2 separate regions of the Homo sapiens genome follow, and region 1 is linked to region 2. The links are contacts of gene promoters, found by promoter capture Hi-C in human tissues and cell types (Jung and others, 2019). All regions are on one chromosome and are shown on one strand. The core of a region is centred on a gene start or on the middle of the fragment in contact, and the rest is flanking DNA. Distances in the headings are between cores, read along the strand shown.

The links. The method cuts DNA at HindIII sites, captures the fragments that hold promoters and counts their contacts. A contact is called where the count stands out against the background at its distance.
Region 1: a fragment that was not itself captured here is called in contact with the fragment with the promoter of EEF1A2 in region 2 in 2 of the 25 tissues and cell types used here (aorta and lymphoblastoid cells).

Annotation. Positions count from the first base shown.
Region 1 is chr20:63,938,955-63,941,654 of GRCh38, reverse strand. UCKL1 (uridine-cytidine kinase 1 like 1) reads left to right here. Exons shown (of 15, transcript NM_017859.4): 9 at 447-545; 10 at 612-705; 11 at 799-861; 12 at 939-1,061; 13 at 1,170-1,277; 14 at 1,349-1,505; 15 at 1,600-1,826. The coding sequence ends at 1,679. It overlaps MIR1914 (microRNA 1914), which reads left to right and starts at 111; the gene lies at 111-190. The HindIII fragment of the contact is 6,155 bases long and covers 1-2,700 here.
Region 2 is chr20:63,497,723-63,500,422 of GRCh38, reverse strand. EEF1A2 (eukaryotic translation elongation factor 1 alpha 2) reads left to right here and starts at 1,340. Exons shown (of 8, transcript NM_001958.5): 1 at 1,340-1,365; 2 at 2,589-2,700. The coding sequence starts at 2,660. It overlaps LOC124904955 (a long non-coding RNA gene), which reads right to left and starts at 2,141. Exons shown (of 2, transcript XR_007067719.1): 1 at 1,800-2,141. RefSeq lists enhancers at 706-1,275, 1,536-2,331. The HindIII fragment of the contact is 29,943 bases long and covers 1-2,700 here.

The sequences.
Region 1 (2,700 bases), core at 23-2,522, 440 kb before region 2:
GCACCACCTCGGGGAGGAGCCAGGGCGGGGCCTGACCCCACAAAGCTTTAGTTCCCCCGGGGAGAGGCTGGGGACAAGCTACCCATTCTGGGGTATGACACCTATCAGCACGTGTGAGCCCGCCCTGTGCCCGGCCCACTTCTGCTTCCTCTTAGCGCAGGAGGGGTCCCGCACTGGGAGGGGCCCTCACAGCCTACCCCGCTAGCTTTCTGCCTGATGGTGAGCTTGCCCCGTTGTTCGCCGCCATCTTTCGCCTTTGCCTGACAGCTCAGGTAGGGCGACGTCTCCCCCCAGCTCAGCCCCAGGCAGAAGTCAGGCCCGCTCTGCACCTCGTGCTGTGCCTGGCCCGTGTGTTCCCCTCACAGTGACGCACAGCCGTCCTGTGGGGAGGGAGGGCTCTGGGAAAAGACCCCCTTCTTGAGTGTTCCCCATCGGTTTGTCCCCAGGGCTGCGCTGGCCTCGGCACACCAGTGCCACCCGCTGCCCCGGACGCTGAGCGTCCTGAAGAGCACGCCGCAGGTACGGGGCATGCACACCATCATCAGGTGAGGGCCCACCTGGGGACGGGGCGGCCCCGGGCGCGTGCTCCCGCTCAACTGTTGGCCCCACAGGGACAAGGAGACCAGTCGCGACGAGTTCATCTTCTACTCCAAGAGACTGATGCGGCTGCTCATCGAGCACGCGCTCTCCTTCCTGCCCTTTCAGGTTCGTAGCCCGTAGCCCGCGAGGTGGAGGGTGGGTCTTGGAGCCGGTGCGAGCTCCCTGCGCTCACCGGAGTCCTCACCCTGCACCCCACAGGACTGCGTCGTACAGACCCCGCAGGGGCAGGACTATGCGGGCAAGTGCTATGCGGGGAAGCAGGTACCTGCCTGGGCACACCTGGGCGCGGGACAGGCTGCTGGGGCGGGATGTGGGCGCTTAGCCTCCCCTCCCCGCAGATCACCGGTGTGTCCATTCTGCGCGCCGGTGAAACCATGGAGCCCGCGCTGCGCGCTGTGTGCAAAGACGTGCGCATCGGCACCATCCTCATCCAGACCAACCAGCTTACCGGGGAGCCCGAGGTGCCTGGGGGCAGCCGGGGTGATGAGCCCGGGGGTAGGGGGCAGAGGGAGCTCACAGCAAGGGGACGCAGGGAGCCCCACCTGCAGCCTGACCCCTGCTGCCCGCAGCTCCACTACCTGAGGCTGCCCAAGGACATCAGCGATGACCACGTGATCCTCATGGACTGCACCGTGTCCACGGGCGCGGCGGCCATGATGGCAGTGCGCGTGCTCCTGGTGAGTGAGCCCTGGGTAGGCGGGGCAGGTTCAGGCAGAGGTGGGATTTACCTGCCCAATACACTCGGTAGGACCACGACGTGCCTGAGGACAAGATCTTTTTGCTGTCGCTGCTCATGGCAGAGATGGGCGTGCACTCAGTGGCCTATGCATTTCCGCGAGTGAGAATCATCACCACGGCGGTGGACAAGCGGGTCAATGACCTTTTCCGCATCATCCCAGGCATTGGTGAGGCTGCCCGGGCCCTTCAGCCGCACATGAGGGCAGGGTGGGTGGCCCTGGGAGGCCCCACCACACTGGACCCCCCCCCCCCTTTTTCCAGGGAACTTTGGCGACCGCTACTTTGGGACAGACGCGGTCCCCGATGGCAGTGACGAGGAGGAAGTGGCCTACACGGGTTAGCTGCCCAGTGAGCCATCCCGTCCCCACCACCCTCCTCCTGCCTCCTGACCCAGGACTGCTGAATACAAAGATGTTAATTTTTAAAATGTTACTAGTATAATTTATTCTATGCATTTTATAAAATAAATAAAGCTTTAGAAAAATGAAGGTGTGATTGGTTACAGCACAGGAGAGGTGTCCTGGCTGAGGCATGCATTTGTGGAGACTCCCATGGGGAGGGAGGGAGGGAGCTGAGGGCCCTGCCTTCTCCCCTGCAGGACCAAGCATTCCCAGTCTTGCACTTGTGCCAGATGAAGGAAGGGGTAGAACTGGGCCCTGCAGCTCCTAGCTCTGCTAGATGGGGCCCCTAGAACCCATAGCTTGGTGGCCACCTGGCCTGGACCTAGGGAGGGGACAGGGCCCCCTGGTGCTCTGGGTCTCACAAGAGGCAGGCTGTTTTGCCCCCACCCACAAATTTGTACCATCAGGGTCCTCCCCACAGTTGGGGGGGGGGAGGGTCCTTCCCGTCAGGACAAGTCGCTGGAGGCAGCAAAGCCAGGAGGCAGACCAGGGCGGAAGTGGGGGCCTGCGCTTGGAGGCGGGGCCACCCGGGGCCCACGAGCCCGGAGCCACTGCTGCTCAGGGCCCGCCTCGCTCACCCCTCCAGACCTGGAGGCCCACCCGCATCCCGTGCTCTCTGCCGTGCCCACGCCCGCAAGCGTGGGTTCCCTTAGGTCCTGCCCACCCTGCTTTCCGAGCAGGCCCCCCCCGGGCTCCCCGAGAGGAGTCGCCGCCGTGGTTTACTGAGGAAGAGGAGGTGCACGCGCGGCGCCCACACGTCGGGCCCCGGAGAGGCCCAGATAACTGAATCAGCCTCCCGGGGCTCAGCCGTGGAGCTGAGGGCTGATGCTGGGGACTCAGCCGTGGGCCAGGCGCATCTGACACGGGACACGGTCGTCCCCGTCCTCTCAGGCGCCAGTGTCTTTCTGCGTGGAAGTCCACGGCCAAAAGCGTGGCGTCCTCGGAGCCTGGCACCTCGATT
Region 2 (2,700 bases), core at 91-2,590:
AGAACTGTTTGGCCCCGACCCTGGGCCCCCACCTTTCCTTCCTCCTCACACCTGCCAGCAGGCCAGGTAGGGGTCCAGTCGCTGGGGATCCCCATGGATTTGCCCAGTCGCAGCTGCTGGGCCCGACCCGGGGCCTCCATGTCAACACCCAGTGGGAACTCAGGGCTGAGAGGACAGGTGCCAGGGCTCTGCCCCCACTCAGCACACACCTCCCGAGACCCCGCTGGCAGGAAGATCCGAGTGCGTGGGGGTGGGGGGGCAGCGTGGGAGGGAAGACCTGAATACCTGGGTGAGACGACAGGATCTTGGGGTCTGGAGAAAGCCCCTAACCTTGGTCTTCACACAACACATGGCTGCCACATCCCCTTCCTCACAACCCACGTTGGTCATTACCCGCGTGTGCCAGGACCTCAGGGACTCCCCACTTCCTACAGAGCGTGGCCCGGTCTTTGGCTTGGCATCCTGACCCCATATGAGCATCAGCTACAAGGCGCTGAGGTGCAGCGGGGTGGGGCGCTGGGCGGGGGGGCCTGGGTCTGTCTGGATCTGACTCGCCCTTGGCTGGCGCTGTTTCCCAGCAGCAGCCGGAGGTCGGCGCACCCGGAGGGGAGGGTCCCTGGAAGATGTCAGTGGGTCTGGGAGCGGGCTTCCGGCGTTCCCTGCACCGTGGGAGACCAGCCTCTCAGGGGGAGGGTGGTTCTGCGCTGGATCCTCGGGGCCTGTCATGGTGCGCCCAGGAGGGCAGGCACGTGAGGACAGGGACTGGAAACCAGCAGATTTCCACCCTGAGGCCTGCACCCCCGGGCCTCATTAGGGAGAGCCCCTCAGAGCCGGGCTTCGTTGGTTCTGGGGCGTCCCCCATGAGCAGGGCCGGGGAGGGGCCGGTAGACCCAGGCTCGTCTCCCAGGCTGCAGCCCACCTGCTCCCCTCCCCCGCCTGCCGGCTCCGGTCCTCGGCGTCTGCCCTGTCCCCGGGGACCGCTTTTCGCGGCTCAAGCGTGTTCCTGCCCTGAGCCGGCTCTCGCCCCGTCTCCCGGGCCCGCCGCGCTCTCCCCGCGCCGTCTCCGTCCCGGTCCCTCCCTCCCGCCGCCTCCCTGCCCTGCCCCCCGCCCCGCCCCCGCCCGCGGCGCGTTTCTCCCCCGCCTCCCGCGTCCGTCTTTGCAGCCCGCGCCTCCCGCATCGCCTCGCGTCCCCGTGGCGCCCGCCCGCGCGCGTCCGCGCCCCGCCCCCTCCCGCGCGGTTCCGCATTGGCGTGCTGCAGGGCGCGGTGCACTGCGCCGCCACCGTCAATAGGTGGACCCCCTCCCGGAGATAAAACCGCCGGCGCCGGCGCCGCCAGTCCCTCTGGCTGAGACCTCGGCTCCGGGTAAGGACGCTCGGCCCCCGGGCCTCCGCCCCCGCCCCCGTCTTCCGAAGAGGGACCCCCGGGGCCGGTCCTGGGGGGCAGAGGGTGGCCGGGCCCCGCACCCGCCCCCGCGCGCGCCCGGAGTCCGGCTTCCGGGGGTCCCCGCGTCGGCCGGGCTGGGCCCGGGGTGGGGGGCGGCGCGGGGCGGCGGGGCCGGGTCCTGGGCGGCGATCGCCCCGTAGCCGTGACCTTGGGGCCGCGGGGACCCTGCGGGCCGGGGGCTGATGGGGGTCGGGCTTCGGGGCGCTGGGCCAGAGGACGCTGAGGGAGGTGGTGAGATCTGGGGGCCCTGGCCTCCCCACCCCCACCCGTGTTCCCACCCCAGGGTGGCTTCTGTCCTCTTTCCCTCCCCCAGCCACCTGTCCGCGAGGAGCAGCGTGGGTTTCTCCACTGACCTCTGTGATGGGACAGGGCTGTGACCCAGGGTCCTGAGTCACAGGGAGGGGGGGAGGGAGGGTGCCCCCTATACCCCCACGGGGCCGAGGGCATCTCCACCTGGCACTTGCTGGGCTCGGCAGGGCCGGGTCCTCCTTCCTCAGGCTGGAACAGGGACCCCCACCTCCCGGCCGCTGTCTGTCCCTGTGAGAGTCCGGGAGGGGGGTGCCTAGAGCTATTCTGGGTTCCTAATCTGGGCAGCGCATCTCCGTCGGGGCTCTGGCCCAGCCTGCCGGGCAGGGATGAGGGGAAGATGGCGCCGTCCCTGCCTGAGGAGGGGAGTGGGGAGCAGTGGCCATCTCTCCCCGGTGGCAGCGGGTGGGGGTGGGGCGCCGTGTCCCTGGCCCTGCCGCCGGGGAGGGGAGTGCGCGTGCAGGACAGGGCCCTGGAGCGCTGGGCAGGTGACTCATCACCCGGCTCTGCTGGTCACGGACGTACCCAGCCTGGCGCTGCGTGGTCTCTCCAAATGGTGGCTAACCCCTTCCCAAGGAGCAGCCCGCGGGCTCCAACGCCCAGTTATTTACAGCAGATGGGGCTGTTTGGGCTCAAGTGTGGGGTGGGGGCAGTGCACAGCCTCTGCTTGCCCTGGCCAGGCCCAGCTGTGGGTGGGGGCCCTTCCCTCCCCACCAAACATGGGGGCTTGGTTTGTGGGCAGGGATGCCTGTCCAGCCTGTGCCAGGACAGTCTCTGCTGGTGTCTCCCCCTGGGGCTCCCCATCACCGGTCTCCCCACCACCACTGGCCCCACAGAATCACTGCAGCCCCCCTCGCCCTGAGCCAGAGCACCCCGGGTCCCGCCAGCCCCTCACACTCCCAGCAAAATGGGCAAGGAGAAGACCCACATCAACATCGTGGTCATCGG